Linked DNA regions of Homo sapiens: regions 1 and 3 are each linked to region 2. Evidence: promoter capture Hi-C in 16 types of primary human blood cells and fetal thymus (Javierre and others, 2016). All regions are on one chromosome and are shown on one strand. The core of a region is centred on a gene start or on the middle of the fragment in contact, and the rest is flanking DNA. Distances in the headings are between cores, read along the strand shown.

Region 1 (4,595 bases), core at 1,479-3,978, 510 kb after region 2:
TACAGGGGTAAAAAACTATTTCCACAGGGCCAAGCAGAAACAAAAATAAAATTTTTATTCATATTGGCGTTTTGTTATAATGCGTATGTATTTTTACCTTTCCCTATTTCGGGTTGTCAGCTCTCTCCCTTCTGAATAATCACTGAAACAGCAAGCATGGTATTTGACTCTTAATGGGAAGGCAGGGTGGGAAGGGAGGCAAGCAACATTTGCCTTTTATTATTTTTCTTCTTCTTTAAAAGAATCTAACAAACACATCTACTCTATGCTGTATTTACTGTGCTTCAATAGCAGGTAAGGGAAGAGGATGTGCTTGCGTGTGTAATTAACCAAAACCTTCCCAGGATCAAGAAGTCTGTGATGAATAGATTCACTATGCTTTTAAATTTTAAAAAGTGAAATTTTAAAAAGTGAAAACTGACAGAAGTACTCAGACACAAGTAGAGTTAAAAATCCTGAAGCCTCCTTGCTATGACGCCAGCCCTGCTCAGTACGTGACGGAAGGGAGGCTCACAGGGATGGTGTCTGCGACCCACTCAGCTCTGCCATTTACCATCACCTGACTTTAAGCCAGTGTCTATTTTGTAGGGCTGCTGTGGGGACCAATATGAGCTGAGAGCTCTGCCAGGCACCCTACATGATATACCTGTAAGGGAGCGTCCTTCTGCGGCCTGAACCTGAAGCTCTTCAGAGGGACCCATGCTGGGCTCTGAAGAAAGTGACTCACCTTGGAGGAGCAAGGGCAGGTCACATTCCATGATGAGAAATTCTCACACCACCCTCCTTCATATTTGACTCACATCATGCAGCATGGACTTCCACTCCAGTAAATGAGTCCTCATTTGTGGGCTTAAAAATCTTTTTGTTACCCAGCTATTTGGTTCTTGTCAACGCTACTTCCTGAATAAAGGTCTTCCCTGATAGTAGGAACAAGTGGCCCAAGCTTCATTCATCTCTAGATAAATGTGAAGGCCGTGCTCAGCACAGGAGTCAGCTGACTGGCTGGGCCCCAAATTAGAGTGCTGTTAATAAGTGCCAACCACCCGCCATCACAGCTGGAGCTGCCCTGGCATTGATAGCTGGTCCACACTCATTTACATTCTCTTCACGCAGCCATGCAGCTACTGTAGGAGGCTGCAGATGCCTGTTTTTTAACCAACAAACTGGTTCACTGCAGATGTGAATTTTGGTTGTACTTCACGGCTGTAAAGTTAAAAACAGCAAATGCTACAAAGAATAGGATGGGAACCTAGAAAGGGCAGAAAAACAAGCAGGGAAGAAAGCTGGCAGGTGAGAAAAGATAAATAAATACAAGTGACATTGGGAAAAGATGGGTGGTTACACAACCACACACACATTTGCAGTTTCCACGAAAAGACTACACCAGATGTTCTTCAGTTACTCTGATTAAACTCTCACCACCTGATGGTCTCTCGTCGTTAGCGCTTGCTTCATGAGTGTGCCTAAACCTCCACCTTGTGGCCCTAAGTTTCTGGAAAACTTGACTTACACAGCTCTGAGTTTATAAAGCAAAGTTATGGCTGTGGCAAGGCAGAAAAGACTCAACAGTGAAACTTCTGACCCTAAGAATACATATTCCAGAAGCATCACCTTCAAATCTCCTTTTATGTAACACTCTTCAGTCTCACACCAAACACACCCAATTCATTCCTAAAAGCAGCACACTGAAAACAAACTAATGAATTCTTTATCTGAGAACACACAAGGGAGCTGAGAGCCTTGACAAAAGCATTCCATCATATCAATGAAACAAAGACTCTCTCCATTTCATCAAAGATACAGTGTCTTATTCTTCAGGGATTCCAGAGGACTGATTCCAGCCATTCAAGTCCTCCTCCAGAGGCCGTCTTATATTAATACGTTTATATTAATGCCGTATTAATATAAACGCCTCATTTCAGAGCGACAAGTTCCTGAAAAGCCAACTGGAATTTATATTACTGGCAAAGACACTGCAATGAGAAAGCAGGTGCCCTTAGTCTCACACGGGTCAAAATTAGCTTGTGGCTCATGTCTTAAATATCAGGAATCCTCAAGGATTAGCGACTGCTTTAGCCATCTTGCTACAAAGAATGGCATAAGGAGAATTTGCACAACTGAGAAAGGTAAAAGCGTATGCGCTAATAACATGGACTTCTTAGATAAAGTCTAAATGCACGTAGCGATTTGCTTTGGTACTGAGCCCAAAAGAACTGTGTCAATTCTGCTTACAAAACAGTGTTTTGCTGACACATACTTTTCAAACACCCAAGAGGAAGAAAACCCTTTCCTCATGGAGCATCTGTGCCACCTAGTGGCAACTCGTTCCACAGCCCACAAATAAGGACAGAAGATTAGGCATAAACTCTCCTTTCTCATCCAAAGGACAAGGTGGGGACTTCTCTCATTCCTCTGGTGGTCACTGAGCCAGCTCCACCAGGCCGTCACTGCCTCAGGTCCCCATATAACATTTTTCACTTTATTTTCCATGATGGGCCAAACACCTACAATCCTTACCCTAACATTAGAAACTAAAATGTGAATGCTGTTATCCATAGGTGAAAGTCAAGTTCTGAAACATACTGTAATCCATCATGTAATCATAACACACATTCTCTCCACTGCAAAACGTTGCTGAGGGGCATAAAAAGATGTGAATAAATGAAAAAACATACTTTAAACTTAGCATGGCCCAGCATTTCTAAGCTAATAATAATCTCCCTGATGGGCACCTTACCCCTCTCCTCCTCTTTCCTCCTTTTGCTGCTCATTTCAGACTCCAAAATCTTTTTCCAGCCTAGATCTCTCCCTGTGTTACTGACCCGGATCACTGATCTAGGGTCACTGATTTATGGAGCACCTACTATGTGCCAGGCATTGTAAAAACACGTACACACTGGATGTCTCCCCTAAAAACTCAACATGTCCAAAACAAAAGTAATCTCTCCTGAATCTTTTGGATTCCATTTCCAGTTTTGTAAACAGCATCATCAACTACATAGTGGTCCAAACCAGACACGCCTGTGAGACCTCTGGCTTTCTCCCCACCTTCACATGCAACATATCACCTTCTAATCCTCTACCTCTCAAATCTGCTCCTGTTCTCCAACTCCAAGGGCAGTTATGGTCCTTATGATCCTTATCAGTCAGGATGTGCTAGGTTATGCTGCTGGAACAAACTCAAACCTCAGTAGTTCAAAACAGACTTTGTTCTCACTCATGCTGCACATCCCTCTTGGCAGAGGGAAAAAATGAACCATATGCCCTTTAAAAAAAACTGCGGTAGGCTGGGCACGGTGGCTCACCCTGTAATCCCAGCACTTTGGGAGGCCAAGGCAGGCAGATCACCTGAGGTCAGGAGTTCGAGACCAGACGGACCAACATGGAGAAACCCCGCCTCTACAAAAATACAACATTAGCCGGGCGTGGTGGCACATGCAGGTAATCACAGCTACTCGGGAGGCTGGGGCAGGAGAATTGCTTGAACCTGGGAGGCGGAGGTTATGGTGAGCCAAGATCATACCATTGCACTCCAGCCTGGGCAAGAAGAGCGAAACTCCATCTCAACAAAAACTAAAACAAAACAAAACAAAACAAAACAAAACAAAACAAAACAAAACAAAACACCACTCTGGGAGGCCGAAGCAGGTGGAGGATTACGAGGTCAGGAGATCAAGATCATCCTGGCTAACATGGTGAAACCCCGTCTCTACTAAAAATGCAAAAAATTAGCCGGGCATGGTGGCATGTGCCTGTAGTCCCAGCTATTCAGGAGGCTGAGGCAGGAGAATCGCTTGCACCCGGAAGGTGGAGGTTGCAGTGAGCTGAGATTGCACCACTGCACTCCAGCCTGAGCAACACAGCGACACTCCATCTCAAAAAAAAAAAAAAAAAAAATTGTGGTGAAAACACACAATACAAAAACTACCCAATTAACACATTTTTAAGTGTACAGGGTCTGTTAGCAAAATGTTGTACAGCTGATCTCTAAACAACTTAATCTGGCATGACTGAAACTTCCCACTGCACAGTGACTCCCCACTTTGCCTTCTCCCAGCCTCTGGCACCCAGGGTTCTACTTTGTGTTTCTATGAGTCTGACTACTTTAGATCCTGCATTTAAGTGGAATCGTGCAGTATCTGTCCTTCTATGACTGGCTAATTGCACTGAACACAATGTCCCTCAAGGTGGTTTATCTGTGTTGTTAGTATGTGCCAGGAGTTCCTTCTTTTCAAAGGCTGCATAATATACCAAATTTTAACCATTCATCTGTTGACGAACATGTCAGTAAGTGGTTTCCATCTTGTGGCTACTGTGAATAATGCTGCAATGAACACAGGAACATGCTGAGATCCTTTCCCAAAGGATTTCAATTCCTTTCCACCGGCTGCCTTTTCACTCTGTTGATGGTTTCCTTTGCTGAAAGCATCTTAGTAGTCACTTGCCTGTTTTTTGCTTTTGTCACCTTGTTTTTGGTATTATACCCAGGAAATCATTGCCAAGACTGATGTCATGAAGCTTTCCACCTACGTTTTCTTCTAGTTTTTATAGTTTCAGGTCTTACACTTAAGTCTTTAATCCATTTAAAGAGTTGA
Region 2 (4,834 bases), core at 482-2,981:
CAGCCTTCACCTCCTGGGTTCAAGCAATTCTCCCATCTCAGTCTCCTGAGTAGCTGGGATTACAGGGCCGTGCCACCACAACTGGCTAATATTTTACATTTTTCCTAGAGACAGGGTTTCACCATGTTGGGCAGGCTAGTCTCAAACTCATGACCTCAGGTGATCCACCTGCCTCAGCCTCCCAAAGTGCTGGGGTTACAGGCGTGAGTCACCATGCCCAGCCTATTTTATTTTACTTTTTAGATGGAGTCTCACTCTGTCGTCCGTCCAGGCTGGAGTGCAGAGGTGCAATCTCGGCTCACTGCAACCTCCACCTGTGGGGCTCAAGCAATTCTCCCACCTCAGCCTCCCTAGTAGCTGAGATTACAGGTGCCCACCACCATACCCAGCTAACTTTTGTACTTTTAGTAGAGACGGGGTTTCACCATGTTAGCCAGGCTGGTCTGGAACTCCCGACCTCAGGTGATCCACCCGCCTCAGCCTCCCAAAGTGCTGGGATTACAGGTAAGAGCCACCACACCTGGCCTTCTATTTATATTTAAATATCTCCCCATTATAACTTCTCTGAGGGAAAGGAGGAGGCCTATTTAGTTCACATGAGAGGTGCGTCCTAAATACTGTTGAATGAATGAATAAATTTAAGGGACGATTCTGTCCCAGGAACCCAGACAGTATGGACCTTGGAGAAACAGGACGTTTCCAGTCTCAGATCTAGCACTTGGCTAATAATTATTTCTGAGCCTCGATTTTCAAATCTGTAAAATTAAGATATACTATTCTCTACTTAGGATTGTAATGGGCATCAAATAAGATAATGTGGCTGGGCACAGTGGCTCACATCTGTAATCCCAGTACTTTGGGAGGCCGAGGTGGGAGCATCACTTGAGGCCAGGAGTGCGAGACCAGCCTAGGCAACAGAGTAAGACCCCCCCCGCCCCCACCCCATCTCTACAAAAAACTTAAAAGTTAGCAGGGTGTGGTGGCATGCATTTGTGGTCCCAGCTACTTGGGAGGCTAAGGTGGGAGGATCGCTTGAGCCTGAGTTTGAGGCTGCAGTGAGCTGTGATTGAGCCTCTGCACTCCAGCCTAGGCAACAGAGCGAGACCTTGTCTTTCAAAATAATAAAATGATAAGGTAATGCGCAGAAGCATTCAGCACAGTGATTGGCACATGGAGGGCCCATTGGGGTGTTTTTGTTTTTGTTTTTGTTGTTGTTTGAGACAGAGTCTCGCTCTATGGCCCAGGCTGGATGGATTGCAGTGGCATGATCTCGGCTCACTGCAATCTCCGCCTCCTGGGTTCAAGCGATTATCTTGCCTCAGCCTCCCGAGTAGCTGGGATTACAGGCGTACACCACCAAGCCCGGCTAATTTTTCTTGTATTTTTAGTAGAGACGGGGTTTCACCATGTTGGCCAGGCTGGTCTCGAACTTCTGATCTTAGGTGATCCGCCCGCCTTGGCCTCCCAAAATGCTGGGATTACAGGCCACCGTGCCTGGCCATTGAGTGTTATTAAGAGGAGGGTACGCAGAAAACAGACTCCCGCCAGCTCTGCCCCATGCGCATGAGCGGCCGCCGCTCGCCCTCAGCCAGGCCCAGCGCGCCCCGACGCGTCCCCACGCCTGCGTGATCCACCGGAACCCAAGCCCAGGCAGGCGGTGAGAGGGCGGGGCCTCCGCAGTGCGACTGCGCCGCTCGAGGCCGTGCGTCGCGGGGGCGGGGCCGCGCAGGCGTACCGGGTGCCCCGGCTCTGGAGCATAAACAAGAGCGGGGACGGGATGAGGCGGCGGTTGATCCCAGGGTGGCGAGTGGCGGCGACCGAGGCGGCGAGCGGGGCCCGGCGCCGACCCTGAGTGCAGCCTGACCCGCCCTCGCGCGCGCGCCCTCCCCGGCCGGGCCCACTCGCCGCGCGCCCAGCCATGAACCTGGCGAGCCAGAGCGGGGAGGCCGGCGCCGGCCAGCTGCTCTTCGCCAACTTCAACCAGGACAACACGTAAGGCCGGGGTCGGGGGTCGGAGTCGGGGTGAGGCCAGGGTCGGACCCGGGCTAGGGGGAGGGCCTCGCTGCCAAGCTCGGCGGCGTCGCAGGCTCGGCCTCCCCGCGGGCCAAGGCGCGCAGAGGCGTCCCCAGGGGCGGGCCCGGGGCGTGCAGGGAGGGGCGCCCTCCAGGGAGACCCTCGGGTGCTGGCCTGGAGCTGCGGTCCCGGAGCGGGAGAGGTGGTGGAGAGGGGGCTGCTTTCACCCTCTTGCGGGGAGGCCCCCTGGCTTCAGACTTAACTACTTCTCGCAAAGTTGGGGCCGAACTTTGGGGCTTGACTTGTCTTGGCCGCCTGTGGAGCGCTGGGTGTGGGTCGCTTCCTCTCCTCTCGTCTCCTCTTCCCGCTGCTTGCTCAGCGTCTCCCACTCACTCTCCTTTGAATCAGGCCCTTCTCCTTGTCTTTTCATCGTCTTAAGACCCTTCTCTCTCTCTTGATTTTCTTTTCTTCGTTTCTCACTGTTTTTTTGTTTGTTTTTGTTTTTTGGGGTTTGTTTTGTTTTGAGACAGAGTCTTGCTCTGTTGCCCAGGCTGGAGTGCAGTGGTGCCATCTCAGCTCACTGCAACCTCCGCCTCCTGGGTTCAAGCGATTCTCCTGCCTCAGCCTCCCGAGTAGCTGAGACTACAGGCACGCGCCACTGTGCCCAGCTAACTTTTTTGTATTTGTAGTAGAGACAGGGTTTCACCATGTTGGTCAGGCTGGTCTCAAATTCCTGACCTCAAGTGATCCGCCCACCTCAGCCTCCCAAAGTGCTGGGATTACAGGTGTGAGCCACCGTGCGCGGCCCTCCCTGTTCTTTTTGGGACATCAACTTTGATGTCTTCTCCAGCAAGTAACAAACTTAGCAATAACCTTGGCATCTGACCTAGCTAGGGAGAAACTGAGCCAAGAGAGGCGTTACGGACCAGTGCCCCAGGAGTCTCAGAGCTCCAGCGGGTGGGTCATCCTCAGGGCAAGAGAAGGCCTTAATGCCAGCCCGTGCATTCGGAACGCTGTTTGTCCCCACTGATACGGGTTGGATGCTGCCTGGGAGGAGGACTTGTGGGGATGGTTAATAGATGAGCGAGCTTTCTGGAGAGAGAAGGGTGAGTTATGGGGTTGGCAGGGAGGAGAGCCATCTTGGAAGTGAGTAAGAGGAAGTGAGGAAAGAGAAGGAGTGGGGCATTTGGCATCTTACTAAGTCATTGGTTGAGTTGTTACTGGCTGAGTGGAATTAACATAGCAGAAGGTAAGATTCTTTAGGAAATTAAAAGTGAATTGTAGAATGGACAACACTCAGTGGGTGGTGTACAGCAGGCACTCAATAGCACCTCCCCAAAGCTGTGAAGACAGTCGCACAGTGGGACTGTATTGAGAGTCGGAAGGGGCAAATCACCTCATCCAACTACAGATGAGGAAATCCTTCCGAAAGGCTCCAAGCTGGTCTGGGTTTTGGAATTGGTTAATAGTGGAGCGGGGGCAGGAGTGGAATCTCGCCTCCTGAGCTCTCTTCCAATGTTCTTTCTGCTCTGCCATGCTGTTTTTTTTTCTGTTTACAGAGTAGAATTCTGAAGACAGTGAATTTAGAAATAATAGCATAACAACGTGTAAAGATGAAAACTCCCAAGTACTGTAGCGTTCTGTGTGACCAAAAGCCAGAACAACAAACAATTCGGACAACCTGTTGCAGTTCAAGTGGAATAGACTATGTTAATCCAGATAGGGAAAAGGACACATCCCAAACCAATTCTAATTTGGTTTTTAAGCCCAAGGCCACAGTATTTTGAGACCAGTAAGAAATGGTAGTAGTAGTAGGGTGGTTTATGCCTTGTATAAATTAGAGAGTTTCCAAAACATTGTCGGCCACTCTTTCAGTTTTTCACTAATTATTTCTATCAGAATGAAATCAAATAGAGAAAAGCATTCTCTTTTACTGTTACTTCAGCTGGACTGCCATGTTCCCTGTGTCACAGAAGAGTGTCACTCTGGCCTGAAATAGGACCTTTTCACACTTGGACATTTTCACACTTACCCACTTCTCCATGCTCCCCGAAGTTATTACAGTTCAAGAGATTTCTGTTACTTTGAGATTTCATAACTTTGACTTGCCAGAGAGACCTTGATGTAGTGTAAACCTAAATTGGAATGAATAGTAAGCTAGGATTATACTAGAAGTTGACTGGGCTAAAATGACGGTAATTTGTTTTAAATCTACACTTGAAAGAAATAGAGAAGTTCCCGGAGAGAGCTTTTATGGCTTATACCTTTTCCTCCCTTCTTAATCTCCAGAATTTATTGAGGAGCACAATTTTTAGCAAGTGAAAGAATGACCGTCTAGAACTCACATTTACTGTATGCAGTGAGAAAATTTGGAAGCCAGTTCACTTACTAGAATATATATGTTATAGGGTCATTTCCCTTTTTTTTGTCTTTTAAATTCTTTTTGTATTTGTTACATACCAAACTATAACTGTCCTGCCTTTCTTTACTGGTAATATGATTTCCAATGTCGTACTTTTTCATGATTCCTATCCTAAAAGTGTGCATAAGTTTTATTTGTTTTTTACCATTTGTTTTTTGTTTTGTTTTGTTTTTTTACCTAGAGAAGTGAAAGGGGCATCAAGAGCAGCTGGTCTTGGCCGTCGCGCTGTTGTCTGGTTAGTTCCAACCCTGGTTTCTGAAAGTATCACCTTGGAAGGCTTATGTTAGAGGACTTTTTTGGCTTTTTGAAATTGCAGTGAACCAGTTAATAAGTGGGAGAGGATCACTTGAATCTGAAATGGAAATATCAAGGACTACATTTTTCCAGTGGATACCACAG
Region 3 (4,657 bases), core at 1,209-3,708, 530 kb after region 2:
GCACCGAGATTTATTTCAAGTGACTTTAAAATATTTTAAATATTGAATAATGTTATTAATATTATTAAGAACCAAGACTTTTAGCATCAGAGAAAAGAAAGTTGGCAGGGCATGGTGGTGCATGCCTGTAACCCCAACAATTTGGGCGGCTGAGTTGGGAGGACGGCTTGAGGCCAGAAGTTCGAGACCAGCCTGGACAGCATGGGGAAACCCAGGCTCTACAAAAAAAGTTAGCCAGGTGTGGTGGTGCACACCTGCAGTCCCAATTACTCAGGAGGTTGAGATGGAAGGACTGCTTGAGCCCAGGAGGTAGGTTGAAGCAGTAAGCCATGATTGCATCACTGCACTCCAGCCTAAGTAACACATGGAGCTCCTCTGTCAAAAAAGAAAAGAAAAAAGCAAAGAAGGTACTTTGGAAAATTGTTGAGTCCAGGTCTGAGAAAGCAGAAGCTGAAACGGGGTCATTTGGCTGTGCCCAAAAGCAAAGATGTTGTCAGAGACTACAGGGGTCGGGTTAAGAGAGACTAACTTGAAGGGGCAGCCAATAGTCAGAGATGGGACAATGTGAATATCACCAAGAATAAAAGACTACAATGAACTACATTCATCAATTTGCCAATACTTTAAATACTTATCTGATAAGATTGGTGATATCAATGAATGTCATTCTATAACAGATGGATCAAAACAATAAATTCTAATTTCTGCTTAAAATCTAGAATTTTGGTCAAAAATAATCACTTCATTCATTTTTGAGAAAATGCCTGCCAAATACCTATTTTGAATAATCATAGTTTTTCTGTCACTTTTTTCCAAGTAAAAAGTGGCCAATGCAGCTGCTTTGTGGCTCAGTTGCATAAGTGCTTTCCTCATACCTGGATATAAGACAAGCTTCATATCCTGGGATGTGGCAGAAGCACTTTATGAAGACTTCATTTTATTACACAGAATATTGAAAAGATGTTTCCAACGGTCAAAACTTGGTAAAGTAATTTTTACTGCTTTATCAAAGACATTTTCAGGTGAAACTGGTGTGTCTTAAAAATGTAAGTGCATGGTGGTGAAGAAAACAATGATTGTGACGATGGCTCTACGACACTGGCCTGATTCATGCCAAGGCACCACTGCTTTTGTTCTGCTGGTACAAACTCAATATGGTGAAAAAGCAAATATAGCTGAGCTTGATCAACAGAGATGTGAACTGTGGGGACCCACTTATGTGCTGATTTTCTTCTGCTTCTGCCACCCTGAGACAGCAAAACCAACACACCCCTCCTCCTCAGCCTACTCAACGTGAAGACCATGAAGATAAAGACCTTCTCATGCTGATCCACACTTCCATTTAATGAATATGAAATATATTTTCCTTCTCATTTTCTTAATAACGTTTTCTCTAGCTTACCTTATTCTAAGAATACAGCATGTAATACACAAAACATACCAAACGTGCTCATCGACTATTATGGGTAAGGCTTCCTGTCAACGGTAGGCTGTTCACAGTGAAGTTTTGGGGCAGTCAAACATTATATGCTGACTTTCAGCTGCACAGGGGGAAGCACTCCTAACTTTCATGTTGTTCAAGGGTCACTGTAATGTCTTAGCATAGTTATAAGAGGTTTGACCTCGCAGACCCCCAAGAGAGTCTTGGGAAACCCAGGGATCTCTGGGTCACACTTTGAGAGCCACTGGTTTAGAAGATACTTATTAAACAACCAATATATACATTCCAGCTGACTTGCACATTTGATACTATATTTAGAAAAATTAAAGAGCGAAATGGAACCGAGGCTGAGGGAGGAGGTAAAATAGATACACTAAGCTCCAATTAAAATTTTCTAACATGAATCTGATTTATGAAACCACAAACATAAGTATTATGACAAAATCCAGGTTTTTTCTTTTAAAAACTTTGCATATATCCAAATTTAACAGTCTGAAGAAAAGGGAAATCTTAAAAGACAGTTTTGTACTAACTAAACCCTAAGAGCAAACCAGAATCCCAGAAACACACCCCAAGACCAGAGCACATCTTCCTACCTCTGCCATCTCTTTGATTTTCTGCTCATAGAACTCCTGCTCTTGTTGCACAGCTGGAAGGAGAGCACGTCGGTCATAGGACCTACAATGTCGTCGCTTATTTTCAAGAAAGAACATCCTCTTTTCTATTTTTATGTCACCTAGAAGATATACGACAATGCAAAAGCATGCAGACAACTATGTGTTAGGAACCTGGGCCAGCCATGTCCATTCTTCCCGGCCTCATCCTCCACCTTCTCTCTGATGGTACGTTTCATGACTTTTCTATCACATTCTACCATTTGGGAAGACTGGGCTTCTTACCATTAGCCAACCTACCATCCATTTTTTGACCTTTCTGATTCTTTCCCTCTGTTTATGCTCCAATTGGAAGGCATCTCCTATCCTGTCACTAGTGTACTATGTGAATATACCACAATTTATTATCTATTTCACTACTGAGGACATTTGGGTTTGCTGTTTTGGGTTAATCTGAATAGCGCTGCTTATAGCCATTTGTTGGTGAATGTATGTCCGCAATTTACCTGCGAATTGCTAGATCATGGGATAGGCTTACTTCCAGCTTCAGAAAATAATGCCAGTTTTCCAAAGTGGTTGTACCAGTTTACACCCTTCCTCCATCAGCAATGCATGTGAGTTCCAGTCTCTCCATGTCCTTACCAACACCTATCATCGGTTTTTAATTTTAGCCATTCTGGTGGGTGCAAATGTGCTGTATGATTTTCAACCATTTTTATTTTCAAAGCATTCAAATATACAAGGGGCTGAAGGAACAGTACCTAGATTCACCACAATATATTATAACATGAGAATAAAAGAGAGCAGAATAACAAATATTAGACACGTAAATGATCTGTTTAGGTTTTGTACTTGTTTCACTGATTTGGCAATTTATGATTTTCTTTTTGGAGACAGAGCCTTGCTCTGCTGCTCACGCTGGAGTGCAGTGGCACATTCACAGATCACTGCAGCCTCAACTCCTGGGCTCAGGCAATCCTCCCGCCTCAGCCTCCTGAGGAGCTGGGACTATACAGGCAGATGCCACCACACCCAGCTAATTTTTTTGTATTTTTTTAGAGATGGGATTTTGCCATGTTGTCCAGGCTGGTCTTGAAGTCCTGGGCTAAATGATCCACCAGCCTTGGCCTCCCAAAGTGCTGGGATTACAGGTGTGAGCCACAACGCCTGGCCAATTTATGTTTTTCTAGAAAACTTTATCTCATTCAGATTTTCAATTTACTCTTGTCTGTTCTTGGTAATCTCTTGATTTTAATATTTACTATCTGGTTCCTAATACATTTTATTTTGATTCTCCTTTTCTCTTGCTCATTCTCATGTTTTTTTTTTTGTTTGTTTGTTTGTTTTGTTTTTTTTTGAGACAGAGTCTCACTCTGTTGCCCAGGCAAGGGTGCAGTGGTGCGATCTCGGCTCACTGTCAGCTCCGCCCCCCGGGGTTCACGCCATTCTCCTGCCTCAGCCTCCCGAGTAGCTGGGACTACAGGCGCCCGCCACCATGCCCGGCTAATTTTTTGTATTTTTAGTAAAGACGGGGTTTCACTGTGTTAGCCAGGATGGTCTTGATCTCCCGACCTCGTGATCCGCCTGCCTCGGCCTCCCAAAGTGCCAGGATTACAGGCATGAGCCACCGCGCCCAGCCTCTCATGTTTTTTTAAATTCAAACCTTTTCTTCAGAAAACCAGTTTTTGGGGCCAGGCGCAGTGACTCACGCCTGTAATCCCAGCACTTTGGGAGGCCAAGGAGGGCACATCATCTAAGGTTAGGAGTTCGAGACCAACCTGTCCAACATGGTGAAACCCCCCAGGCATGATGGCGCACACCTGTAATTAATTCCAGCTACTTGCGAGGCTGAGGCAGGAGAATCGCTTGAGCTTGGGAAGTGGACTCCGTCTTAAAATTAAAAAAAACAACAGCAACAAAAAAAATCAGTTTTTGGTATTATGAGAATAGAAAAGCACGTGGTTAGACAGTAAGCTTTGAAGCCAGATTCCCAGCTGGGCTACTCGCTAGCTGTGTAACATCTGCCAAGTTACTTAACCTCTCTGTGCTTCACTTTTTTTCTATAAAATGATAATAATGGCACATACATCTCATAAGGCTATTTGAAACATAAATGAATTAATCCATTAAAGCACTTAGAAAAGTGACTGGTACATATTAAGTGCTCAATGTTAATTACTGTAATTATCAATGCTACAAATTAAAAAAATTTTCACCTATTATTTCTTTCGTCTTTACTCAGTTCTTTTTGTAGTTTATCATGTTAAAGTAATAAGATTTATTTTCAGTCCTTTATTTTAAAAAATAAATGCAATTGGCCGGGTGCGGTGGCTCAAGCCTGTAATCTCGCACTTTGGGAGGCCGAGGCGGGCGGATCACGAGGTCAGGAGATCGAGACCATCCTGGCTAACATGGTGAAACCCCGTCTCTACTAAAAACACAAAAAATTAGCCGGACTCGGTGGCGGGCACCTGTAGTCCCAGCTACTCGGGAGGCTGAGGTAGGAGAATGGCGTGAACCCAGGAGGCGGAGTTTGCAGTGAGCCGAGATTGCGCCACTGCACTCCAGCCTGGGCGACAGAGCAAGACTCCGTCTCAAAAAA

The links. Contacts are between HindIII fragments. The CHiCAGO score rates a contact against its expected background, and 5 or more counts as called.
Region 1: a fragment that was not itself captured here is called in contact with the fragment with the promoter of WIPI2 in region 2 in 2 of 17 cell types (naive B cells and fetal thymus); the score reaches 5.8 in naive B cells.
Region 3: a fragment that was not itself captured here is called in contact with the fragment with the promoter of WIPI2 in region 2 in 2 of 17 cell types (fetal thymus and erythroblasts); the score reaches 6.4 in fetal thymus.

What each region holds. Positions count from the first base shown.
Region 1 is chr7:5,702,343-5,706,937 of GRCh38, forward strand. All of the region lies in intron 13 of RNF216 (ring finger protein 216), which reads right to left. Among named protein-coding and RNA genes, the nearest start is that of MIR6874, 7.3 kb to the right of the region's middle. RefSeq lists an enhancer at 1-807. The HindIII fragment of the contact is 3,575 bases long and covers 942-4,516 here.
Region 2 is chr7:5,188,502-5,193,335 of GRCh38, forward strand. It overlaps WIPI2 (WD repeat domain, phosphoinositide interacting 2), which reads left to right and starts at 1,732. Exons shown (of 13, transcript NM_015610.4): 1 at 1,732-1,992; 2 at 4,617-4,670. The coding sequence starts at 1,919. RefSeq lists silencers at 1,517-2,166, 2,177-2,226. The HindIII fragment of the contact is 15,802 bases long and covers 1-4,834 here.
Region 3 is chr7:5,718,996-5,723,652 of GRCh38, forward strand. It overlaps RNF216 (ring finger protein 216), which reads right to left. Exons shown (of 17, transcript NM_207111.4): 9 at 2,038-2,177. Among named protein-coding and RNA genes, the nearest start is that of MIR6874, 9.4 kb to the left of the region's middle. The HindIII fragment of the contact is 3,138 bases long and covers 890-4,027 here.